Linked DNA regions of Homo sapiens: all the other regions are linked to region 6. The links are contacts of gene promoters, found by promoter capture Hi-C in blood cells and fetal thymus (Javierre and others, 2016). All regions are on one chromosome and are shown on one strand. The core of a region is centred on a gene start or on the middle of the fragment in contact, and the rest is flanking DNA. Distances in the headings are between cores, read along the strand shown. Region 1 overlaps FBXL19 (F-box and leucine rich repeat protein 19). Region 2 holds the start of HSD3B7 (hydroxy-delta-5-steroid dehydrogenase, 3 beta- and steroid delta-isomerase 7). Region 3 overlaps ITGAD (integrin subunit alpha D). Region 4 holds the start of SETD1A (SET domain containing 1A, histone lysine methyltransferase). Region 5 has its middle 11 kb from the start of ITGAX. Region 6 holds the start of FUS (FUS RNA binding protein). Region 7 overlaps STX1B (syntaxin 1B).

Region 1 (3,566 bases), core at 850-3,349, 240 kb before region 6:
TGGTGCAGTCTCGGCTCACTGCCAGCTCCGCCTCCTGGGTTCACGCCATTCTCCTGCCTCAGCCTCCTGAGTAGCTGGGACTACAGGCGCCTGCCACCACGCCCGGCTAATCTTTTGTATTTTTAGCAGATACGAGGTTTCACCGTATTAGCCAGGATGGTCTCCATCTCCTGATCTCGTGATCCGCCTGCCTCGGCCTCCCAAAGTGCTGGGATTACAGGCGTGAGCCACTGCGCCTGGCCACTATTGGGTGCTTTTTCTAACACTTCTCTGATACTTATCTCCCTGTTTAACAAAAGTAGTCTTCAGGTAGTAGCCTAAAGCCACAGCAACACCTGGCTAGGATTTAATAACTCTGGTCTTTTTTGTGTTTTATTTATTTATTTATTTATTTTTGAGACAGAGTCTCGCTCTGTCACCCAGGCTGGAGTGCAGTGGCGCAATCTCGGCTTACTGCAAGCTCCGCCTCCCAGGTTCATGCCATTCTCCTGCCTTAGCCTCCCAAGTAGCTGGGACTACAGGTGCCCGCCACCACGCCCGGCTAATTTTTTGTATTTTTAGTAGAGATGGGGTTTCACCGTGTTAGCCAGGATGGTCTCAATCTCCTGACCTCGTGATCTGTCCACCTTGGCCTCCCAAAGTGCTGGGATTACACCACACTTGGACTTTTGTGTTTATTTTTAAGATTAACATATTTATGTGAAACAATACTGGGGTTTTTTTTTTTGTTTTTTTTTTGAGACGGAGTCTCGCTCTGTCGCCCAGGCTGGAGTGCAGTGGCACGATCTCGGCTCACTGCAAGCTCCACCTCCCAGATTCACGCCATTCTCCTGCCTCAGCCTCCCGAGTATCTGGGACTACAGGCGCCCTCCACCACGCCCAGCTAATTTTTTGTATTTTTTTTTTAGTAGAGACGGGGTTTCACTGTGTTAGCCTGGATGGTCTTGATCTCCTGACCTAGTGATCCACCCACCTCGGCCTCCCAAAGTGCTGGGATTACACGCATGAGCCACCGCGCCCGGCAACAATACTGGTTTTAAGTGCAAAGAGGAGATGATTCAAAGATAAATCATGTTACGCAGATAAGTGAACAGCAAATACTGGAGCTTGGGAATCACTGCCCCAGCCCAGGGCTTCTACAAGGAAAAGCCTTTCAGAGTCATGAGGGCAGGGAGGGAGGCAAGAGAAAGCTTCCCTTGGGAGGCCAAGGGAAGGATCGCTTGAGCTCAGGAGTTCAAAACCAGCCTGGACAACCTTGTCTCTACTAAAAATAAAAAAATAGGCCAGGCACAGTGGCTCACGCCTGTAATCCCAGCACTATGGGAGGCCAAAGTGGGCAGATCACCTGAGGTCAGGATTTCGAGACCAGCCTGGCCAACATGGAGAAACCCTATCTCTACTAAAAATACAAAAAATTAGCCGGGCGTGGTGGCGCATGCCTGTAATCCCAGCTACTCTGGAGGCTGAGGCGGGAGAATCGCTTGAACTTGGGAGATGGTGGTTTCAGTGAGCCAAGATCACACCATTGCACTCCAGCCTGGGCAACAAGAGCGAAACTCTGTCTCAAAAAAAAAAAAAAAGTCAGGTGTGGTGGCATGTGCCTGTAGTCCCAGCTACTCAGGAGGCTGAGGTAGGAGGATGGCTTGAGCCCAGGAGTTTAAGGTTGCAGTGAGCTGTGATCGCAGTACTGCACCCCAGCCTGGGTGACTAAGCAAGACACTGTCTCAAGAAAAAAAAAAAAAAGCTTCCTGGGCCTGCTGCTTCTGACACAGTCTATTGAGTCTCAGAGGCATTTCTGGACATGCCTTTGAGAACTACTGAACTCAGAGAAGAGAGTTCTCAAACTGAGTCCAAAGGAACTTCAGTGTACTACAAAATGTTACTAGATTACCTTGGGAGAGGTGGGGAAGGATTCCTGGGGAAGTACGTTTGAGAGGCCCTTCTCCAGTTCACTGCATGTTTTTTGTTTGTTTGTTTGTTTGTTTGTTTTTGAGATGGAGTCTCTCACTGTTGCCCCAGCTGGTGTGCAGTGGTGCGATCTCGGCTCGCTGCAATCTCCGCCTCCCGGGTTCAAGTAATTCTCCTGCCTCAGCCTCCCGAGTAGCTAGGATTACAGGCGCCCGCCACCATGCCCAGCTAATTTTTTGTACTTTTAGTAGAGACAGGGTTTCACTAGTAGAACAGCCAGGCTGTTCTCGAATTCCTGACCTCATGATCCACCCACCTCGGCCTCCCAAAGTGCTGGGATTACAGGTGTGAGCCACTGCACCCAGCCCACTGCATGTTAGATAGTCTGTTGAGGCCTGTGGAGTGCTCGGGTTAGGAAACCTGTTTAATGTTGCTTAGGACTCGTTCATCTTTGTAGCTTCAATACTTGGGACCTATAACGCTTTCTATAATCAGAGTGAATAAATGAAATGCTGTAGATGAGGAGGTGGGGGAGAGTGGTCAGTGGAAGCTTTAAGTAGTTACTAGCTTGATTCATTCATTACAAATGGGCAGCTGGGTGCAGTAGCTCATGCCTGTAATCCCAGTGTTTTGGGAGGCCAAGGCAGGAGGATCGCTTGAGGCCAGGAGATCAAGACCAGCCTAGGCAACATAGTGAGACCCTGTCTCTACAAAAAAATTGTTTAAAAATTAGCCAGGCGTGGTGACATGTGCCTGTGGTCCCAGCTACTCAGGAGGCTGAGGTGGGAGGATTGCTTGAGCCCAGTAGGTTGAGGCTGCGGTGAGCCTGAGTCCAGCCTGGGTTACAGAGTGAGACCCTGTCTCAAAAAAAATTTTTTTTCAAAAAGTGGAAAACGCAAATCTGCCCTTGTGGAATTTACATTGTAGTTGGAGGAACACAGTAATGTAATAGGGAAGATATTAGGGCTGTAAGTCCAGCTGCGGGCAGCTGGCTGTCAAGATGGGACAGGTGTGGATCAGAAGCAGAGATGAGTAAAGGAGGCAAGGACCCATGAGCACCAGAACTCAGTCAGGAATCAAGAAGCCCAAGGGTGGCTGGAGACGACTGGATAACACCAGTCCCCTTGGCATGACATCAGGCAGCATGCGTGGCATTTGTGTATGTGTTGGGCAGCACACTTTCTATGCTGGGAGGCCCACAGCTGGGATGAGCCCATGTGACCTGACAGCTGCCCTGTGGGCAGGCAGAGTGGGGGGGCTATTGCCTTCAATCATAAACGAGGCTTCTGAGGCTCAGGGAGAGGAACAGACTTGCCCAGGGTCTCATTTCCAGTTAGTGATGGAGTTGGGTTCCAATCCCAGTGCTCTTGGCTGAGGTCAGGTGCTTCTTGCTACCCTGTTGTCTGTGTGGCCAGAAGAGAGCTGGGGTGCACCCTTGGAGCTGGGGAGCCTGGGAACTGTGGGCTGCTGAGAGCTGAGGGCTGAGGTCTCTGTCTCCCCCCTATGGCCGCCAGGTGCTATGACAAGCGTCTGTGGCCTCGAATGGACCTGAGCCGGCGGAAGTCACTGACCCCGCCCATGCTCAGTGGTGTGGTTCGCCGCCAGCCCCGTGCCCTGGACCTCAGCTGGACAGGTGTCTCCAAGAAGCAGCTCATGTG
Region 2 (3,659 bases), core at 1,160-3,659, 190 kb before region 6:
TTGGGTGCAAGGTGGTTGGCTGGGCTCAGCAGTGAGAGGGTGAGGGGGACGGGAGGCCCTCTCTCGGTGCTGCTCTTAGCTGCTGGGAGTATGATGGGAGGGCCAGTGAGATGGGTGTGAGGAGGAAGAACAAATATATGGTCAAGATGAGCTCCAGTCTGGACATGTGGGGTTGCAATGCCCCAGGGACATCTAGGGGATGACGCCCAGCAGCTCCACTGAGGTGGCTTTTGGCTGGAAATGGAAGTTTGGGAGGAGTCCCCACCACATAGCTGGCGGCTGAGGCTCTGGAAGGGAGTGAGGTCACCCGAGGAGGGCGTGCAGAGGCTCCTCACTGTCTTCTGGGAAGTAAGGGTTGCTCCTCACACGGAGGTGCGGGGCCTGACATGGGCGGCCTGCCATTTGCATTAGCCGGTGGCAGCCAACAGGTGCCTGTTTTGGAGAGAGGTCCAGGGAGGAGAGATGAGCAGGGTGCCGTTGGTGACATGGCCAGTCATTTCAGGAGCTGCCCCAACCCCAGACTTGCCCCAGCAGTCCGGGACCCCACTGTGACCAGGCAGATGCTCGAAGGAGTCAGTGGCTCTCTTACCCAGTGCAGATTTCCCTGGAGTTCCCTGCGGGTGACTTAGAATGGCCACCAGAGGCTTAGGATGCTGCCCCAAAGAGGGAGGGCTCCTGGAAGCAGAGTCGAGAGAGTCAGTGCCGGGTTAGCGGGAGCTGGAGGCAGAGCTGCAGCTCCAGGCCTGGTGGGCGTGGACCTGGGGTGCTGGCTGGCAGGCGTGCTCAGGGGCAGGAAGTGGGGGACTCTTCCCTGACCATCGCATCTCACCCTGGCAGATGGTGGCCGACATGCGGGAGAAGCGCTACGTGCAGGAGGGCATTGGCAGCAGCTACCTGTTCCGGGTGGACCACGACACCATCATCGATGCCACCAAGTGTGGCAACCTGGCCAGATTCATCAACCACTGCTGCACGGTGCGCCAGGGGCCAGCCGGGGCAGGAGTTGGGGGTCGGTGGGGGTGGCCACGGCTCACACGCCCTTCCATCCGCAGCCTAACTGCTACGCCAAGGTCATCACCATCGAGTCCCAGAAGAAGATCGTGATCTACTCCAAGCAGCCCATTGGCGTGGACGAGGAGATCACCTACGACTACAAGTTCCCACTGGAAGACAACAAGATCCCGTGTCTGTGTGGCACAGAGAGCTGCCGGGGCTCCCTAAACTGAGGTGGGGCAGGATGGGTGCCCACACCCCTATTTATTCCCCCTGGTGCCCTGAGCTCCCAGCACCCCCCCAGCCTTAGTGGGCTCAGCAGGGCCCACATGCCCCCATCTCCAAGCGTGGGGTTGGGGGCCCCAAGCCCAGCGAGGGAGCCTCAGTCCCTGGAGGCAGCTTCTGCCTCTCCTGTCACCCCTGCCCACCACCCCCTGATTGTTTTTCTTTGCGGAGAAGAAGCTGTAAATGTTTTGTAGCAGCCAGCAGCTGTTTCCTGTGGAAACCTGGGGTGCCGGCCTGTACAGATTCTGTCCTGGGGGGCTACACAGTCCTCTTGCTTTGTGTTAATGGGGACTTCCCCTTACGCCCTGCGTGTACCCCTCCCCAGTTTAGGGGTCTCTGGGGCAGTGGCCATGTTCTCCCCCTGGGGGGGCTCTGCACCCCCAGTCCTGGGGACTCCGTGCCTGGAACCCTGCCTCATCTGTTCCTGCCAGACCCTGAGGGTCACCCTTCCACCCTGGTGTCACTCCCCGGCTCAGCCAGGCCAGGATGGCGGGGTGGGTCCCTTTTGCTGGGCTGGACTGTACATATGTTAATAGCGCAAACCCGACGCCACATTTTTATAATTGTGATTAAACTTTATTGTACAAAAGTGTTTGGTCGGTGTATTTGGGCAGGAGCGAGGGGTTGGGGGTAGAGGGCACGGAGGGTTGTGCAAGTTGAAGAGAGGGAAAAGTGGGTACCTGAAGTGTGGGGCAGGTAAAGGGGCCTTCAGGCAAGAGCCCAGACCTGCAGAGACAGTCCGAGACTGTCTCGGACCCCCTGACAGGCTGCAGCAGCCGCACCCGCACCAGGAATACCCCACCAGTGCCCGCCAGGGTGGTGCCAAGGTCAGGCCTCCCCTTCCTACAATCACAGCTGCAGCTGGACCTCCGGCCTCCTGGGAAGCCCAGCAGGAGGGAAGGCCTGAGGTCACACTGTGGGATGAGGTCACCGCTGGCTCCACCCACAGCCCCAGACCCCTTCAGCCCACTCTGCAAGTTCGAGCTTCATCCCCACCAAGTTCTCCGCTGGACCCAGATGCCAGTGGAGCACAGAGCGGCCGCCAGGGGGCGCCTTGGGGCAAGAGTGGTGGGGGTTGTGGCTGGGCGGGTCTCTGTTCCTGGAATGGGGCAGGAGGGAGAAGGAGGAGCCAGCGGAAGGACGGTGTGCGGGCCGGCCAGCCCTGGACGAAAGAAGAGGGCCCCTCCAGGCCAGTCTGGGCACCCTGGGATAGCGGCTGCAGGTAGGCAGAGGCGCTGCCAGTGCCCAGGTGGCCTTTCCCTCCATCCGGCCCTTCCCACCTTCCTATAACCTTCCCTCCACCTCCCTCAACTCCTGGCCTCCCCACCCTTTTACTGCCTTCAAATCTCTCTCCCTAAACCCTGACCCCTTCCTGCACCCCAAGCCCGCCCCTCTCTCCGTAACTCAGCCATCAGCAGGGGCAGACGGCAGGTGGCCTGGTTGCTGCAGCTCCCAGGATCAGCTCTGCCCTCCCCGCAAACGCCAGCCTCGTCACCGCTCCAGGGCACCTCCAGCAGTAACAGGTGGTTGCAGCAGGTGGCAGCCAGCCCCTGGATGAGCCAAGGTCTCTTCCCCAGCCAGGCATGGCCGACTCTGCACAGGCCCAGAAGCTGGTGTACCTGGTCACAGGGGGCTGTGGCTTCCTGGGAGAGCACGTGGTGCGAATGCTGCTGCAGCGGGAGCCCCGGCTCGGGGAGCTGCGGGTCTTTGACCAACACCTGGGTCCCTGGCTGGAGGAGCTGAAGACAGGTTCTTGTTGGGGGAGCTTGTGGTGGAGAGGGTGTGGACGCTTCCCCAACCCTTCCCAAGCTGGGATCCCCACCCCTGCAGTGGAACAGATGATGCTGGTTTCTGTCCACATGGATGGGTCGAGTGAGTCACATTGGGAACGTGACTCCAGGGTGGAAGATGAACCCAGCCTCTGGCCTCTGGCCCCAGCTCTGACATGGCCTGTGTCCTCCAACCCCGGCCAGGGCCTGTGAGGGTGACTGCCATCCAGGGGGACGTGACCCAGGCCCATGAGGTGGCAGCAGCTGTGGCCGGAGCCCATGTGGTCATCCACACGGCTGGGCTGGTAGACGTGTTTGGCAGGGCCAGTCCCAAGACCATCCATGAGGTCAACGTGCAGGGTGAGGAGCTCTGGACACTCCTGGCCATCTTGCCTGTTTGTTCCCCACTCTGTCTTTGGCCTTGACCTCCGGTGACTCCCCTGGGACAAGTTGTCCTATTGACAGCCCTGCCCCCGCCTCCCCTGACCTGTCATGGTTTTCCCTGGACCTGGGATGGGGAGGAGGAAGATGCAGAGAGGGAAGAAGCTGCAGCTTGGATACGCCTCCTCCTCTGCCAGGTACCCGGAACGTGATCGAGGCTTGTGTGCAGAC
Region 3 (3,373 bases), core at 839-3,338, 220 kb after region 6:
CCCAAATAGCTAGGATTACAGGCACCGCCACCATGCCGGGCTAATTTTTTTGTATTTTTAGTAGAGATGGGGTTTCACCATGTTGGCCAGGCTGGTTTTGAACTCCTGACCTCAAGTAATCCGCCCACCTCAGCGTCCCAAAGTGCTAGGATTACAGGCGTGAGCCACCACTCCCAACTGGGAATATTCTTGGGCACCGCACCCATGGGAGCATGAAGGGTGGATGCAATGCAATCATAACAGAGGCCCAAGGTCAGCACTGGGGTGCTTGCCTGTCATCCCAGTGCTTTGGGAGGCCGAGGTGAGTGGATCGTTAGAGCCCAGGAGGTTGAGACCAGCCTGGGCAACATGGCGAAACTCCGTCTCTACAAAAAGATACAAAAATTAGCCAGGCAAGGTGGTGCACACCTGTAGTCCCAGCTACTCAGGAGACTGAGGTGGGAGAATTGCCTGAGCCTGGGGAGGTCGAGGCTGCACTGACCTGTGATCACACCACCACACTCCAGCCTGGGTGACAGTGAGACTCTGCCTCAAAAAAACAAAAAATGAAAAAACCAGAGGCCTCAGCCAATGCCTGGGGGGCTCAGAGTGCAGCTGGCCCTTCAGACGCTGAACCAGTCATCGGTAAAGGTTTCCTCCAGGGGCAGGAGGTGTCCCAGTGGGCAACAGTTCCCCTCTGCCTAGCGTGATTCCTGGGAAGGGACTCAGCTCAGAGCCAACTCCACGTAGCTGGAAATAAGGACCTCTGACCGACTGGGGGTAGGGTGGGGTCTGGGGTGGATCCCTGCCCCACCCCCACAGCATCCCTACAGGCATATCCTACAGGCCTCGAAGGTGCCTGGCACGTGGTGAGAATGGTGCCAGCGGCTGACCCTGGCAGAGGGCCAGGACTTGTCTCCAGCACCCATGTGCGTGTTGCTTTATCCTTGCAGTGATCCCACGTGGTAGCCACTGATATTACCTTCATTTTACAGATAGGGACACTGAAGTCCAGAGAAGTTAAGTAATGTGCCTGAATTCACCAATTAGCACGTGGCTGAGCTGGGGTTTAGCCCAGGCACACTGGCTCCAGAACACGCGCCCTGAACCACTTTGCTAAACATTCGCCCTTGATGCTTGTGGCACCCCTAGCATCTGTGTTTAATGAATATTTGTTGATTAAATGGATGAGGAGCCCACCTGGGTCCTGTGTTGTCATCCCTCTCTTTCCAGGCCATGTGGGAGGAAGGGAGCAGGGGGCTGGGGTGGCAGACTGGGGCCTCCTCCAAGGAGGGGTCGGAAACTAGGTGGGGATGCCAAGAACAGCCCCCGGGCTCTGTTGAGCAGGAGCTGCAGGAGGGGGTTGGGCCCCCGCAGTGCATCTCCGATTCCTCCCCATTCCCCCACAGAGTGTCCACATCAAGAGATGGACATCGTCTTCCTGATTGACGGCTCTGGAAGCATTGACCAAAATGACTTTAACCAGATGAAGGGCTTTGTCCAAGCTGTCATGGGCCAGTTTGAGGGCACTGACACCCTGGTGAAGACTGGGCACCTGGGGCTGGGGTTTGGGGGACGGGGGAGGCTGGCCTCGGGGAGGCATCCCGGGAGGGGTGGGGGCAGGCCAGTGAGCCGTGTGTGATGGGGCTGGGGTGGAGAATGAAGCTATGGTCCCAGCACAGGCCCAACTTGAGCCCTGACCTAGGAGGCCCTCTTGGCATTTAATAATGTATCCAAAAGCTACAGGAAATACAATGTTTCTGCTGTTTAAAAACATTGAAAGTGTTTAAAAAATAATTTTGCTATGGAATTTGACTGACATATTTTCTATGTAACTAATGATTTCTTTTTATTATTTTATTTTCCCATAACTAGTGCCTATGTATGTGCAAAAAAACCCCACTGTTTTGTTTTTTAAACAGGGTCTTGTTCTGTCATCCAGGCTGCAGTGTGGGGGTGCAATCATAGCTCACTGCAGACTTGATCTCCCAGGCTCAAGTGATCCTCTTTCCTCAGCCTCCTGAGTAGATGGGACTACAGGTGCATGCCACCATGCCTGGCTAATTTTTAAAAATTTTTATTGTAGAGATGGGGTCTTGTTATATTGCCCAACCTGGTCTCCAACTCCTGGCTCAAACAACCCTCCCACCTTGGCCTCTCAAAGTGCTGGGATTACAGGCATGAGTCACTACGCCCAGCCACAAATTCTTGAGAAGGGAGGAAATACACAAATTGATTTAATGTGTGATAAAATTTTTAAAAAGCTAAGGGTAGCAAATATTGTGGTTGGCAAAGTTATTTTTAATAAACTGTGAAGGAAATATCATTTGGTTTAGATTTTCCAGTTTATATTTTGTATTTTTGGGCCAATGAATTTTCTTCTCTGGGTTTCAGTATATTATTTGTAGGGCTTCAAAACACATGGGAAATGGTTTGTAAATCCAAAATAATTCCAAAATAAAGTTTATTAAAACTGAAAACAATATGGCTTGGTGTGGTGGCTCACACCTGTAATCCCAGCACTTTGGGAGGCTGAGGTGGGAGTATTGCTTGAGGCCAAGAGTTCGAGACCAGCCTGGGCAACATAGTGAGACCTTGTCTCTACCAAAAACAAAACAAAACAAAAAACAAAGCCAGGCATGTGACGTGTGCCTGTAGTTCCAGCTACTTGGAGGCTGAGGCAGGAGGATCACTTGAGGCCAGGAGTTTGAGAGACCCTGTCTCTACAAAAAATTAAAATAAAAACAATAGTAACAGGCACTGAGCCCTGGGCCCTCCCCACTGGCCTTTGCAGTTTGCACTGATGCAGTACTCAAACCTCCTGAAGATCCACTTCACCTTCACCCAATTCCGGACCAGCCCGAGCCAGCAGAGCCTGGTGGATCCCATCGTCCAACTGAAAGGCCTGACGTTCACGGCCACGGGCATCCTGACAGTGGTGTAAGCAACCCCGACCCCAGCCTGGCGATGTGACTGCCACCCCCACTTCCTAACCCTGGGTCAGCACAGCTCTTCTCAGAGGCTGAGGGAGGCTCCAGGGAAAGGGGCTACCAAGGGGCATGTCGGGGCTGCAGGGAGAACCTCCCCCCGGGGTGCTCCTGGTTGCCTCGCTGCCAGTCTCCCTGATATAGGACTAGGCTCCTCTGCAGCTATGCCTCCCCTTTGCCTGGTTCTGCAGAGCCTGGACCCCAGGACCCCTCCCCACCCCACAGCAGCCAGAGGCCCGGGCTTTGGCTCAGACACATCAGGCTCCCATCCTGGCTCCCCGTGAGCTACTCTGGGTGTAACCCTGGGGTGATGGGCTCTAAGTCTCAGTAACTCTCAGATGAAGATAAGCTCACAGCTTAGGATTGAGATCATGTGTGTGGGGTGCTCAGCCCGGGGCACGTAGGAG
Region 4 (3,275 bases), core at 597-3,096, 220 kb before region 6:
CTCCCAAATAGCTGGCACCACAGGACGTCCCACCAACCCAGCTAATTAATTTTTTTTTTTTTTTGTAGAGAGGAGGGTCTCACTATGTTGTCCAGGCTGGTCTTGAACTCCTGGGCTCAAGTGATCCTCCCACCTTGGCCTCCCAAAGTGCTGAGATTACAAGTGTTAGCCACTGCACCTGGCCTCAAGTTTCTTTCTTGAGCAACTACCACATACTAGGGGACTTTCATAGGTTATCTTATTTAACTCTCACAACACCTTAAGCGTTAAGTCTTTATCATTTTCATTTCAGAGATAAGGAAACAGGCCCAAGAAGGCTGAAGATCTTGCCCAAAACCACACAGCTAGTCCATGAAACTGAACTTGGACTATCTACCCCTCACACGGGAATCTCTCTTTGATTTGAGAAAAGGAACCAGTGCCTTTCAACTGGAACAGAAAGGAATCTGATCTCAACACCTATGCCTCCACGTAAATTATTTTTTTCAGCCTTATTTCCCTCAAAATTGTAGAGTCCTAATCTTCTTCTATCTTGTGGTGTGAGACCTTGGATAAGTCTCCCTTCCACCTTTTCCTATTACTTAAAATGGTGAATTTGCATAAACCAGGCTCTAAGGGTCTTTTCTGCACTGTTCGGATGTGTACAAATTGACATCCAAGTTTAAAGGAAGACTCTGAAACTTAGGTCAATGACTTGCCCAAGGCCATATAGCGAGGGCCTGATGTACACATATCAGGAGCTTGGGGCATCCTCAGCTCAGGAAAAGGGACCTCCTGGGAGTGCCTGCGCCCACACGGGATCAAAACGGTGCCCAGCCTTCAGAAACCTCAGCCCGAGTTCCAGGGGTAGGCCTGGGCCGCTGCTGCCCTTGTGCGGAGGCATCCCGTGAGCATAGGGCGCCATAGCCAAAGAAGCGGGCAGTGGGACCATGACGCCAGGAGGACACACCAGTCCAGTCCCGTTCCTGTAGGACCTCGTTTATTATTACAAGGCCCATTTAAGGGCACTTAGGCCCCACTAGGCTCATCAGAAAACCTTGAGGCGGTCCCTGGATTTAACCACTAATGGTGGGTTTGAGTACGGCAAAGTAGGGCACCTTCTACAGGCCTCACTCTCCCCATCTGGCAAATGGGCATCCTAAGCAGCCAGACACCCAAGGGCAATAACGGGAAGGAAAGGTACCCTGCATTTATGTGCGAGGCGGGGCAAACCGCCTGAGTCACCGCTCACGGTTGTGTTTTTCCACCTCCCGGCCGTCCCTCCCATCCGGGTGAGTCCTCGTGGGTCCTCCCGGAGGCGCCCCCTAGTCCCAGGCTCTGCACGCCCTGGCCCCGCCCCTTGACTCGGCCCCGCCCACAGCGGAATCCGCAGATTCGCCAGGTCGGATCCTCAGAATTCCTCGGGTCCCTCGATACTCGGCTGAAAATTCTCATCGGACTCTGAGAGGAGCGCTGGGCTGGAGGCATTTTCCCCAGGGACAGAAGCGGGCTATTCTCTCACTTGGGCCAGTAAGAAAAATCCAAAAAAAGTTGTCGACTCTGCCAGCAGGGATTGGCTAACGGGCCGTTATTTTCTTGACTCCACCAAGGCGGATGAAGGGGAGGCTACGGCTGAGGCCGGGAACAGTGGCGAATCTGCAGCCTCTCAGAATTTGGCAGTGCAAGGAAGGGACGGGGAAGAGAAGCAAAGCGGCGCGCATCCTGTCCAGCGATTCGCCCCGCCCGCCCGGTGAATCTGCGTCTGCAGAACGCGCCACTGAAGGTTCCCCAGCGCTGGCTGGCCTCCTCCCCTCCGCCCCGCCCCTTTTCCTCAGGGACTAGTCGCAGCTTTCGTCGCCGCCGATTCGTCAAGGTCCCGGGCCGCAGCATCTAGATCGTCGTGGCGAAGCCGACTCTCCGGGGGATGCGGCCAATCTCCAAGCTCCCTGGGCCGCAACTTCCGAGCCTCCCAGGGCGCCGGCCGAGGCGAAGCCGCTACCCTCGGCCCCGTGGGTCCCCCGGCAGCGCCTGTGGCGAAAGTGCGAATGCAGACCCTGTGCCCGCTGGGCCTCGCGCAGGTGGCAGTGGTGTTTGGTGCGCGCGCCGGGGAGGTGGTGGTGGGGGGGCGCCGCCGCCGCCACCGCTGCGGGGCCGGGTCTCGCGCTGCCGCTGCCGCCGCCTCGCGCCGCTGAGGTGCCGCGCGAGGTGGGGGGAGGGGGAGCCGCTCGCCGGGAGCGGGTGAGTGGGGCCGCGCGGCGCGCGTGCGCGGAGACCTGCTGGGGGGGGTGCAGAACGCGCCGGGGCGGGAGGAGAGGGCAGCGGTGCACGTTCCCCCCACCCCCCCGCCCGGATTCGGGGTCGAAGCCGGGTCTCGGGCTCGGTCTCGCGGTGTTTCCAACGCCCCGAAGAGGTGCCACCTTTCGGCCGGAGGATCGGGGCGCGGGGAGGAGAGCGGGTGTGTGGGAGCCGTGGCCGGGCTCGGCCCGGGCCGCTGGCCGGTGAGGAGGCGGGAGGGGGCGGGGCCTGCAGGGGGCGGGGGAGGGGTCTTGCTCCGAGGCCAAGTGGGGCGCGCGCTAGGGAGAGCGGGAAGGTAAGGGGGCTCGAGACGGGCCTGGGGGCCTGACAGTAGAGTTGGGAGGTGGAAAGAGGCTGGGTTGTTGTGGCGAAACAGAGGGTACTTGGGGGAGAATCCGGGGGAGCCCCGGGTCAGGGTGAGGGTTGGAAACTGGAGTGATGGGAGAACCTGGAATCGGGGCTAGCCAATGAGGAAAGGCAGGGGAGTCAGGCCCCAAGTCCTGATCCTTCTTGCGTGTCCCTCTTCCCCTAACAGTGTAAATGAGCAAAGATGGATCAGGAAGGTGGGGGAGATGGGCAGAAGGCCCCGAGCTTCCAGTGGCGGAACTACAAGCTCATCGTGGATCCTGCCTTGGACCCTGCCCTGCGCAGGCCTTCTCAGAAGGTGTACCGCTATGATGGAGTCCACTTCAGTGTCAACGTGAGTGCCCGGGTCTTTGGTTGCCATCCGGGGAGCTCCAGGCGCCCGTCCTCTGTGATTCTGTTCAGCACCTAGAACGGTAGCCTGCCTTCTTGAAAGTGGGCAGTTGGACCCAGCTCTTCTGCATGTGTGTGTCCAGATGGGCTGCTTGGAGCTCCCTAGCCTGGATTCACCCTGAGCTCTCTTTCTGCTGCTGCTTTCCTTCCTAGGACTCAAAGTATATACCAGTCGAAGACCTCCAAGACCCCCGTTGCCATGTCAGGTCCAAAAACAGAGACTTTTCCCTCCCAGTCCCTAAGTT
Region 5 (3,817 bases), core at 423-2,922, 160 kb after region 6:
CTGCTCAATGAAATAAAAGAGGATACAAACAAATGGAAGAACATTCCATGCTCATGGGTAGGAAGAATCAATATCATGAAAATGGCCATACTGGCCAAGGTAATTTATAGATTCAATGCCATCCCCATCAAGCTACCAATGACTTTCTTCACAGAATTGGAAAAAACTACTTTAAAGTTCATATGGAACCAAAAAAGAGCCCACATTGCCAAGTCAATCCTAAGCCAAAAGAACAAAGCTAGAGGCATCACGCTACCCGACTTCAAACTATACCACCAGGCTACAGTAACCAAAACAGCATGGTACTGGTACCAAAACAGAAATATAGACCAATGGAACAGAACAGAGCCCTCAGAAGTAATGCCGCATATCTACAACTATCTGATCTTTGACAAACCTGACAAAAACAAGCAATGGGGAAAGGATTCCCTATTTAATAAATGGTGCTGGGAAAACTGGCTAGCCACATGTAGAAAGCTGAAACTGGATCCCTTCCTTACACCTTATACAAAAATTAATTCAAGATAGTTTAAAGACTTACATGTTAGTCCTAAAACCATAAAAACCCTAGAAGAAAACCTAGGCAATACCATTCAGGACACAGGCATGGGCAAGGACTTCAAGTCTAAAACACCAAAAGCAATGGCAACAAAAGCCAAAATTGACAAATGGGATCTAATTAAACTAAGAAGATTCTGCACAGCAAAAGAAACCACCATCAGAGTGAACAGGCAACCTACTGAATGGGAGAAAATTTTTGCAAGCTACTCATCTGACAAAGGGCTAATATCCAGAATCTACAATGAACTCAAACAAATTTACAAGAAAAAAAGAAACAACTCCATCAAAAAGTGGGCGAAGGATATGAACAGACACTTCTCAAAAGAAGACATTTATGCAGCCAAAAGACACACGAAAAAATGCTCATCATCACTGGCCATCAGACAAATGCAAATCAAAACCACAATGAGATACCATCTCACACCAGTTAGAATGGCGATCCTTAAAAAGTCAGGAAACAACAGGTGCTGGAGAGGATGTGGAGAAATAGGAACACTTTTACATTGTTGGTGGGACTGTAAACTAGTTCAACCATTGTGGAAGTCGGTATGGTGATTCCTCAGGGATCTAGAACTAGAAATACCGTTTGACCCAGCCATGCCATTACTGGGTATATATCCAAAGGATTATAAATCATGCTGCTATAAAGACCCATGCACACGTATGTTTATTGCGGCACTATTCACAATAGCAAAGACTAGGAACCAACCCAAATGTCCAACAATGATAGACTGGATTAAGAAAATGTGGCACATATACACCACGGAATACTATGCAGCCATAAAAAATGATGAGTTCATGTCCTTTGTAGGGACATGGATGAAGCTGGAAACCATCATTCTCAGCAAACTATCGCAAGGACAAAAAACCAAATACCGCATGTTCTCACTCATAGGTGGGAATTGAACAATGAGAACACATGGACACAGGAAGGGGAACATCACACACCGGGGCCTGTTGTGGGGTGGGGGGAGGGGGGAGGGATAGCATTAGGAGATATACCTAATGCTAAATGACGAGTTAATGGGTGCAGCACACCAACATGGCACATGTATACATACGTAACAAACCTGCATGTTGTGCATATGTAACCTAAAACTTAAAGTATAATAATAATAATAATAAAAAAAGAAAAATTGGAGGCCAGTCATGGTGGTGCAGTTCTGTAATCCCAGCATTTGGGAGGCCAAAGGGGGCAGATTGCTTGAGCCCAGGAGTTCAAGACCAGCCTGAGCAACATAGCAAGACCTGTCTCTTAAAAAAAAAAAAAAAAAAAAGGGCCAGGTTCAGTGGCTCACACCTGTAATCCCAGCACTTTGGGAGGCTGAGGCTGGTGGATCGCCTGAGGTCAGGAGTTCGAGACCAGCCTGGCCAACATGTCAAAACCTCATCTCTACTAAAAGTACAAAAAATTAGCTGCGAGTGGTGGCGGGTGTCTGTAATCCCAGCTACTCAGGAGACTGAAGCAGAAGAACCGCTTGAACCCAGGAGGCGAGGGCTGTAGTAAGCCAAGATCACACCATTGTACTCTAGCTTGGGCAACAAGAGTGAAACTCCATCTCAAAATAATAATAATAATTAGCCAGGTGTGCTGGTGCACACCTGCGGTCTCAGCTACTCAGGAGGCTGAGGTGGGAGGATTGCTTGAGCCCAGGAGGTCAGTGCTGCAGTGAGCTATGATGGCACCACTGCACTCCAGCTTGGACAACATAACAATACCCTGCCTCAAAGGAAAAAGAAAAAAAAGAAAGAAAAAGAAAAACTGAAACGTTTGGCAATATGAGGCTGCAACAGAACTGCCCTATTAGGCAGGACACGGCTCTCCAATCACTCTGGTCCCCTGACTCCACATAGCACTCTGGCCTCTGAGCCTGGGCAGTTGTTTTTGAGGTGACCTTTGAGACCCTGGCTTCCTCTGTAGCTCAGCTTCTGCTCCGGCCCACCCCTCCCTCTTGAACCTCACATTTCCGAGGTGAGCCACACTTTGGTTGACCAACACGCTTCTGAAAGTGAAAGGCATTGTGATTAGTAATTACCGGAGAAGCCCGGCTTCAACATGGCCTATCTGGGAAGGTCGGGACCTGTCCGCGTTCCCCTAACTCCCTTTCACCTCTCAACCTTTGCCTATGCTGTATCCTCTGCCCAGAACTCACTTCCTTTTCTTGTTCACCTGACCCCTGCCTCAGCTGAAGTGATCTTCCTCCAGATCCTCTTGATCCCCCAGCTGGGAGAAGTTCTGCCTCTCACTTGCTGCCATGGCAACCTGCATTTCTTTTCCTGGAGACTGTACATTCCCAGGGGACAGGAAGCCCCATCACACCCCTAGACCCTAGGACAATACCCAGAACATGTAACAAACAATTGCTGAGAGAGGGAATGAATGAATGAACAGGCCTGGGTTTCCCCAGCTTCCTATTCTCTGTGCACTCTTGAAGGAGAGACAGCTCTCAGACATCCCTTTCCCTTCATCCTAACACATCTTCAGGACCATATAGTATCCAACTGGGCCACTTCACATTTTTCTTTCTTTCTTTTTTTTTTTTTTTTTTTTGAGACAGGGTCTTTCTCTTTCATCCAGGCTGAGTGCAGTGGTGCGATCATAGCTCACTGCATACTTGATCTCCCAGGCTCAAGGGATCCTCCTGCTTCAGCCTCCTGAGTGGTTGGGACTACAGGCCCACATTACTGTGCTAGCCTAATTATTTATTTATTTTTTTGAGACGGAGTCTTGCTCTGTCATCCAGGCTGGAGTGCAATGGCACGATCTCAGCTCACTGCAACCTCCGCCTCCTGGGTTCAAGCAATTCTCCTTCCTCAGCTTCCTGAGTAGCTGGGATTATAGGCACCCGCTACCACGCCTGGCTAATTTTTGTATTTTTAGTAGAGACGGGGTTTCACCATGTTGGTCAGGCTGGTCTTGAACTCCTGACCTCGTGATTTGCCCACCTCAGCCTCCCAAAGTGCTGGCATTGCAGGTGTGAGCCACCGTGCCCAGCCAGTACTAGCCTAATTTTTAAATTTTTGTAAAGTCAGGGTCTTGCTGTGTTGCCCAGGCTGGTCTTGAGCTCCTGAGCTCAAGTGATCCTCCTGCTTCTGCCTCCCAAAGTGCTGGGATTACAGGCATGAGCCACCGCACCTGGCATACTTCACATTTTCTAGAGTCCAAGAGACTGAATATACAAAGGGATAGTGGTCAGACTAGACATAAAAATAGACATCTGCCCCCCAGCCTGCAGCAACCAGCCCAGGAAGCCTA
Region 6 (3,763 bases), core at 303-2,802:
CAGCTTTATTATTAAATGTTAACTTCATCTGCTTTGTACACGAATGCATACCCAGTGCCCAGAACAGTGCCTGGAACATACTAGGTGCTAAATAAATATTTGTGACTTAATGCATGAATAAGGGTGGACTTCCTTTCTTTTGCTCTCACTGGAGAGTTGAACTCTCCTTCCAAAGGCGGTGGGGTGGATATTGGCATATTCAGGGCCTTTAGGGCTGAAGTCAAGGGCTTAGTGGGGCTTAATTTGTGGGCGGGCCCAGGGCATGGCCCTCATTGTTTCTCTAGAAAGACGTGTCCAACCCTCAAAGGACCTTCTGAAATCCCGCTGAAAGGTTAAGTTGGGAAGGAAAACCTGCATGCCTATGTATCAGGAATTAACGTCTTTTGTCTTGTTTTATTCAGTAGTTTCAAATTGCCTTCTCCAGGCAAGGCTGATGAAAGTGCAAGTTGCAAGTTAATTTGAATGTTTCTTTTTGCTTTTGCTCTCACAGGAAGTGAAAAGGCGACCAAACACTCTAGCATTCATGCCACCAAAAAGAGGAGTGTTTTGCAGTTACAAGACCTGGATTCGAATCACGACTCCTCTTAGCTGCCCTGTAATCAGGCACAATTACTTGGGTCTCTGAGTCTCACTTTCCTTATCTAGAAAACGGAGGTATCTTTACTTCCTTCGTAAGACTGATGACAAGGAAATTATCTGTGCATTTTGAAACCACTTAAGCCTTGTACACGTTTTATTTCTGGGATCGCCCTGGTAGGGCTTCAGAAAAATAAAAAGGAGGTCCCTGAGAAAAGGCTGGGTACCGTACATCTGAGGTCAACCCTCTCTGGTCCCAAGGATGGCCTGGGCTGTTCCGCCCCGTGGCTCCCCAGGGGCAAAGCCATGAGGATCCGGGTGAGAGCCCAGTGCTGGACGAGCCCGGGGCCCAGGGGTCCCGGCCGAAATCCCTGCTGTCTTTCAGGTCAAACGTCATAATCCCCGAACCCCAGAAAGGCCGAAAGGCAAGGCAACCCTGAAAGACGACGAAGTCAACCTCAGGGCGCAGGAGAGGGAGGGCCAGTGTGCTGCCGACGAGGGAGGCTGGAGCCGCGGGGACGAGGCGCCCCATACAGCGGCAAGAGGGTGGAGGGCAGGAGCTCGCCATCCTGGGTGAAAGCGGGGCCCAGCGAAGGGGCCCGGCCACAGGAATCTCGGTTCCACCCCGCTACTCCCGGCTGTGACTCCAGTTTCGTCCCCAGCCGCCGGGACCGCCCCCTCGCCCCGCCCCCAGCGGGCACTCAGGCCGTACCACTGTGCCTTCATGGGGGTGGAGATAGATCGTGGGCTAGTCCTGCCGAGGAGAGAGGGGTTCTTCCTCAAAAAATATGATTATGTATAGTATTCGCATGATTCTAGTTAACTTGTTTCCCTTCTGCCTGCTCGGACCCTCTACCTGCCCTACGAAGGGGGCGGAGTGCGTTCCTGCCTCCCCCTGCTCTTCCGCGTTTGGTGCGCGCCTGCGCGGTGCGTAGGCGGCGGAGCGTACTTAAGCTTCGACGCAGGAGGCGGGGCTGCTCAGTCCTCCAGGCGTCGGTACTCAGCGGTGTTGGAACTTCGTTGCTTGCTTGCCTGTGCGCGCGTGCGCGGACATGGCCTCAAACGGTAGGTAAGGGCGCGAGGCGACGGCGGCGGCGCACCCGGCCGAGGCCTCCCAGCTGGGCTTTTCGTTTTCAGTGGGACCGGGGCGGCGATCCCGTGTGGGATTTTTTGGCGCCCCTGTGGCGGGAAGCCGCGGAGAAGAGTAACTGGAGGAGGCTGGTGTCGCCATTTTGTTTCGCTCCTCTGGCCCTCGCGCGCGGGGCGGGAAGTCTTTTCTTTGCAGTCCGTTTGCTTGGGGTGGGCGTTGGGAGGGACGCTTCTTAGGGGTTTGAAGCGTCAGGTGAGGGTGGAAAACGCCCATTCTCCGTGGCCTCGCCTCCCCCAACTCCCGGCCCCGCGCTCGAGCCCGCTTTGTCGCAGTGCTGCATCCGGGCACTCGCGGCGCGCACGCGCTCTGCGGGCCCCTCCCCCTTCGCGGCGCGGGTACCCCTTCCCCGCCTCGTGTTGGTTCAGCTTTCTGTCGCGAGACCCTTCGCGGAAGACTCGGCGGCGCGCGTCCGGTGTGAGCCTTGTCCCTCAGTGGTCCTTCGCGAATGGGCGGGATCGCTCCGTTCCCGCCTGGGTTGCCACGCGGCTGGGGGCGGAGGCTCGGGATCGGGGCCGCCCTCTAGCTTAACGGTTTGGCGGCGGTGGTCAGGGTTCGACCAACGGACTTGGGGACGGCCCGAGAGTTTTTCCCGCCTAAATTTCTTTCTTTTTTTTTTTGGAGACACGGTCTTCCTCTGTCGCCCAGGCTGGAGTGCAGTGGTGCGATCTCAGATCACTGCAACGTCCACCTCCTGGGTTCAAGTGATTCTTCTGCCTCAGCCTCCTGAGTAGTTGGGATTATAGGCGCCCGCCACCACAGCCCGGCTAATTTTTGTGTTTCTTAGTAGGGGCGGGGTTTCACCATGTTGGTCAGGCTGGTCTCGAACTGCTGACCTCAGGTGATCCGCCCGCCTGGGCCTCCCGAAGTGTCGGGATTACAGACGTAAGCCAACCACGCCTGGTCTAAATTTCTTTTTTCTGAGATAGGGACGGAGAAGAACGGCCGCCCGAGGCCACACCCTCTCCTGGTCCTCTTTCCCTTTTCCTGCGGGGGAAGCGCCGCGTTTCCTGTGCTGGGAGGATGAGTTGATCTTGTTCGTGTATCTTAAGTGGGGCTTTTCAAAAGCGCTTTTGTTGCTTTTTGTTCGCTGGGGGAAGGCAGGGTAGGTGAGAAAACGGAACCATCTGGAGTCCCAGGGCTGGGGACTCGAGTACCTGTTGACTTTCGCCTCCTAAGGCGAGCAGTTGCATGATCTCTGTCATTTGGGGTCCAAGGGCTCTTTTGATTCTCTGGCTTTGCACTAAAAAGCCCACTTCATCTCCGGGATTGGTCAAAGAGTGAAGAATGGCCTTTTTTGAGACTTTCTTATTCTGTGGGTCTGGGCTGAGAGAGCAGAGGCCACAATCTGAACACTGTTCGAATTCAAACCTGTGCCACTTTGGTAGTTCTGCGACGTTGGGAGAGTTAGTCTCTTGACTCCTGGCGATAATGGCTTTCTCATAGAGTGGATGAAACGAATGCGCGATGTTTTAGAGCAATCACTGACATGAATTGGGCTTGCAGAAAATTGTGGATGTCCACCAAGACCTTGGTTTTTCCAATGGTTAAGGCTTCTGGGACTCTGTAGAAACTTGCATTTTCTTCACTTTTTCTTTATTGTAAGAACACTTGGCTGATAACGCCAGTTTGTTCCTCTTCTCAACCAGTGTCTCATGGAGGAATTTTATGCCCTTTGTTGCAACATGGTCCTATTTTTATTTTTTTTTTTGAGATGGAGTCTTGCTCTGTTGCCAGGCTGGAGTGCAATGGCTCACTGCAACCTCTGCCTCCCGGGTTCAAGCGATTCTCCTGCTTCACCTCCCGAGTAGCTGGGATTACAGGCGTGCGCCACCATGCCCGGCTAATTTTTTGTATTTTTATTAGAGATGGGGCTTCACCATGTTGGTCAGGCCAGTCTCGAATTCCTGACCTCAAGTGATCCACCCACCTCGGCCTCCCAAACTGCTGGGATTACAGGCATGATCCACCGTGCCTGGCCTACGTGGTCCTTTTTATTCATCAGTGCTTGAGTTAAGGAATTTAGCTTTAATTCAACTC
Region 7 (3,317 bases), core at 305-2,804, 180 kb before region 6:
ACTTGCTTTCATCCAGCCCCTTCCAACTTCACACCCACCTACTCTTGCTGGCTTGGATTTCCCAGTTGCAACCTGCAGCTGCTCAACCCTCCACCCGCAGGGCTCAGAGACACAAAGAGATTTACCCACCCACAGCACCACTGCCACCGACAGACAGACTCGAGACACAGACAGAAGAGCTGACACCCAAGGCACACAGGAATAGGCCCCCCCGACACCCACACGGAGATGCACTGATGCTGGCGTTCACCCGCACGCAGACTCACAGCTGAGCCGCACTGACATGTGTGGACACACTGGCTTTCAGCTGCACCCCTGAGGACATTTGGGAGGGCTCACTGGGCTTGTTCTTCCAGCTTCTCCGAGCCTCATGTCTGCACACACACTCAGAGCTGGACAGGAGAGGCTGTAGGGGAGGTGCCCTGTGCTACACACACCTGAGTCCTTCTCTGCTTGGGACAGAGGTCTGACAGCAAAATCTGAGTCCATCAAGCTTAATGACATCTGGAGCCCTGATCAGCCCCAGTGGAAATGTATACAGAGTTCATTCTGATTTCCAAAAAGAACCCAGCCAGAGCTCAGACAGAATCCAAACCCCAGAGGCTGGGTGAAATCAAGACAGGATCCAAACAGCATCCACCTGGGGGTGTACTCAGTTGGAATCCAAAAAGAAGAGCTTGCCAGGGTCCCAGCGGAACGCAGACAGGGCCTAACAGAAACCAGACAGGCTCAGACTGAACTAGCCGAGGCTCACACGGATCCCAGACAGATCCCAGACAGCTCAGATTGAACCTAGACAGGGCCAGATGGGACCTAGGTGCAGTCCACACAGCCAAAACTCAGGATCAGCAGTGCCCCACAGCCCCAGGAAAAGCCAGCACAGCCTGGGGGGCCTCCAGCTCCACGCTCCTGAGCCACCCCAGCCTCCCTGCTAAGCCCAGCCCAAATGGAACTCCAGGGAGTCTTCACACAGACGCTGGGCCCACACTGTGTCGGAAAATGTGTTCAGCACTTGTGTTGAATTTCCAGACAATCCCAACCATCCGCCTGGAAAGGGAGTTTCCTCTGTCTTGGCTCACAGCTGCCCCCAGAAAGTGGGGCGGCACAGGTGGCATAAGTTGGGGACCCTGAGAGGCTCTGGGATGCTGGGCTCACCTCTGAGGACCCATCGGCCTACCATGATGCTCTTCACTTTCTCTGTCCTCAAAATCCAGCTGTGCTACAAGGCCTCCTTCCCCTAGAGCCAAAAGCCTTCCTCTGCCCTTTCTCTCCCTTCAACCACTCACTCAGCCACCAGCCTCACGCAGGTCATGCGGCCTCTCCCTGGCCCGGGTGCCTGAGGACTTTCCTGTTCTCTGTGTCTCTCCCTTCCCCATGCTAATGTTAGGAAGTCTTTCCTAAAATCTAATTTCAATCTCTCCTGTTGTTCTTGGAGCCACCTCCCTTAGGTTCATCTCTGGAGCACCCTGGGCTACCTATTTGTTTGCCCTCAAGACAGGAAGAATGATAGAAGGCCCAAGTGTGGTTTATTTGGTATAATAAATACAAAGAGAGCTGGGAGCTAATAATCCTCTACCATTTACAAACACTTTTACATCCATAATCCGTTTTGATCCTCAGCACCACCAGCCCTGAGAGAAAAGCTGCATAAACATCATCGTCCCCATTTCACAGATGAGGGAACAGGAAGCCAGGGGGGTAAAAGGAGAGTGACTTGCCCAAGGGCACCCAGGCCACATAGGGCCAGAAAACCATGGGCATCCAGCCCCTCAAAGACCGCTGTTAGGCTCCAGACTGGGCTACCTCCCCCACTGACTTTCCGCTCCCAGTTACTTTCCCTCTCAGTGAGCGCCTGCTAAGTCCCAATCTGGGGAAGGCTCTGTGTCCGGACAACCTAGCAAAACAAGAGCACTTGATGGTATTTTTTGCGTAAGTCTTACATTCTTGTTATCTCATTTAATCTTCATTAGGACTCTGTAAGGACCATTGGCCAACATAATTATACTTATGCAAATATTTAGATGATGTTTTACAATGTGCCAGGCACTGTTCTATGTGCTCCACATATATCTATCCATTTCATTCTTACAACAGTCCCCTTGGAGGTATTATTATAGCCCCCTTTTATAGATGGGGAAACTGAGGCATAGAGCTAAATAACTCAGGCCAGTTGTAGTGGCTCACGCCTGTAATCCCAGCACTTTGGGAGGCTCTGGTGGGAGGATCACTTGAACCCAGGAGTTCAAGACCAGCCTGGGCAACATAGCAAGATCATGTCTCTACAAAAAATACAAAAATTAGCTGGGCATGGTGGTGCGCACCTGTAGTCTCAGCTACTTGGGAGGGTGAGGTAGGAGGATCCCCGGAGCTCAGGAGGTCAAGAGACTGCAGTGAGCTGTGATTGTGCCACTGCACTCCAGCCTGGGTGACAGAGCAAGACCCCGTTTCTTAAAAAAAAAAAAAAAAGAACTTGCCCCAGGTCAGCTGTTAGAAGACCATTTGGCTCTACCCCTGAGCCTAGTCTCTGCATTTGCTGAGTGGTAACAATGCCTACCACCGGCTGATTCCATGTTACAGACAAGGAAACAGGCTCAGAGAGGTTGCCTGACCTGCCTAAAGCTTCACAGCAAATGAGGCCAGAGGTAGGACCTGAACCCAGGACTGTCTGGCACTAAATGTCAGGCTCTCTCCCTTCTGTCCTGCTGACAGATGGCAGTCCCTCCTGGTCCTAAAAAGCCCACTCTGCCATGTCCTCAGGACTGCTGAACTCCTGCAGCCAGGACAGAAAATCAGTAGGAGGGGCCCAGGGCTGCAGGAAGAGCTTGGACAGGAGGCCATCCCTCCCAGCCTCCGTCTGTCTTGCTGTGTGACCCCAGGCAAACTTAGACTCCTCCCTGGGCCCCAGTTCCCTCATCACTGAAATGAGCAGACTGGTGCAAGTGCCCACCCTGCTCTGAAGGGCCCTCCGTGCTCTGAGTGATGCATATTTAGTAATGAGTACAGCATCCATTTCTGGAAGAAGTTAGGCCAGCCAAAAAGAAAGCAGGCTGTGGGCAAACCAGACTACCTAGGAAAAGATGATCAAATGTGCCCCAGTCTACTTTATGGTGGCCTCAGGTTACAGGTGAACGATTCAAGCCTCAGTTGCCTCATGTGCAAATCGAGGATGTAACATATATGTGCTGATTACCACGAGTTGGGTCCTATTACAAGTGCTTTGCATTTCTTTTTTTTTCTTTTTCCTTTTTTTTTTTTTTTTTTTGAGAGATGGGATCTCACTATATTGCCCAGGCTGGTCTCGAACTCCTGGGCTCAAG

The links. The method cuts DNA at HindIII sites, captures the fragments that hold promoters and counts their contacts. A CHiCAGO score of 5 or more calls a contact.
Region 1: a fragment that was not itself captured here is called in contact with the fragment with the promoter of FUS in region 6 in 5 of 17 cell types (M0 macrophages, M1 macrophages, megakaryocytes and 2 more); the score reaches 9.6 in M0 macrophages.
Region 2: the fragment with the promoter of HSD3B7 here is called in contact with the fragment with the promoter of FUS in region 6 in 5 of 17 cell types (M0 macrophages, erythroblasts, monocytes and 2 more); the score reaches 6.4 in M0 macrophages.
Region 3: a fragment that was not itself captured here is called in contact with the fragment with the promoter of FUS in region 6 in 9 of 17 cell types (M0 macrophages, M1 macrophages, M2 macrophages and 6 more); the score reaches 15.3 in M0 macrophages.
Region 4: a contact is called between the fragment with the promoter of SETD1A here and the fragment with the promoter of FUS in region 6, in 1 of 17 cell types (M0 macrophages). The highest score is 5.2, in M0 macrophages.
Region 5: a fragment that was not itself captured here is called in contact with the fragment with the promoter of FUS in region 6 in 5 of 17 cell types (M2 macrophages, M0 macrophages, M1 macrophages and 2 more); the score reaches 8.9 in M2 macrophages.
Region 7: a fragment that was not itself captured here is called in contact with the fragment with the promoter of FUS in region 6 in 6 of 17 cell types (M0 macrophages, M1 macrophages, monocytes and 3 more); the score reaches 9.7 in M0 macrophages.

The regions. Positions count from the first base shown.
Region 1 is chr16:30,938,694-30,942,259 of GRCh38, forward strand. FBXL19 (F-box and leucine rich repeat protein 19) reads left to right here. Exons shown (of 11, transcript NM_001382779.1): 8 at 3,423-3,566. Among named protein-coding and RNA genes, the nearest start is that of ORAI3, 8.6 kb to the right of the region's middle. RefSeq lists a silencer at 3,317-3,446. The HindIII fragment of the contact is 714 bases long and covers 1,743-2,456 here.
Region 2 is chr16:30,982,798-30,986,456 of GRCh38, forward strand. HSD3B7 (hydroxy-delta-5-steroid dehydrogenase, 3 beta- and steroid delta-isomerase 7) reads left to right here and starts at 2,410. Exons shown (of 7, transcript NM_025193.4): 1 at 2,410-2,500; 2 at 2,856-3,027; 3 at 3,252-3,407; 4 at 3,626-3,659. The coding sequence starts at 2,862. SETD1A (SET domain containing 1A, histone lysine methyltransferase) reads left to right here. Exons shown (of 19, transcript NM_014712.3): 18 at 838-975; 19 at 1,053-1,867. The coding sequence ends at 1,226. RefSeq lists an enhancer at 1,879-2,391. The HindIII fragment of the contact is 29,451 bases long and covers 1-3,659 here.
Region 3 is chr16:31,400,727-31,404,099 of GRCh38, forward strand. ITGAD (integrin subunit alpha D) reads left to right here. Exons shown (of 30, transcript NM_005353.3): 6 at 1,389-1,519; 7 at 2,774-2,919. Among named protein-coding and RNA genes, the nearest start is that of ITGAD, 9.1 kb to the left of the region's middle. The HindIII fragment of the contact is 7,259 bases long and covers 1-3,373 here.
Region 4 is chr16:30,955,908-30,959,182 of GRCh38, forward strand. SETD1A (SET domain containing 1A, histone lysine methyltransferase) reads left to right here and starts at 1,847. Exons shown (of 19, transcript NM_014712.3): 1 at 1,847-2,057; 2 at 2,810-2,974; 3 at 3,184-3,275. The coding sequence starts at 2,825. RefSeq lists enhancers at 1,155-1,918, 1,376-1,505 and silencers at 2,106-2,325, 2,466-2,555. The HindIII fragment of the contact is 14,721 bases long and covers 1-3,275 here.
Region 5 is chr16:31,342,356-31,346,172 of GRCh38, forward strand. No RefSeq gene overlaps it. Among named protein-coding and RNA genes, the nearest start is that of ITGAX, 11 kb to the right of the region's middle. The HindIII fragment of the contact is 4,728 bases long and covers 1-3,817 here.
Region 6 is chr16:31,178,587-31,182,349 of GRCh38, forward strand. It overlaps FUS (FUS RNA binding protein), which reads left to right and starts at 1,553. Exons shown (of 15, transcript NM_004960.4): 1 at 1,553-1,641. The coding sequence starts at 1,629. RefSeq lists enhancers at 439-498, 790-1,550, 1,009-1,078, 1,551-2,312, 2,313-3,073 and 5 more and silencers at 1,239-1,308, 1,949-2,098, 2,219-2,268. The HindIII fragment of the contact is 6,651 bases long and covers 1,529-3,763 here.
Region 7 is chr16:31,002,228-31,005,544 of GRCh38, forward strand. The region is part of intron 1 of STX1B (syntaxin 1B); the gene reads right to left. Among named protein-coding and RNA genes, the nearest start is that of STX1B, 6.8 kb to the right of the region's middle. The HindIII fragment of the contact is 2,126 bases long and covers 492-2,617 here.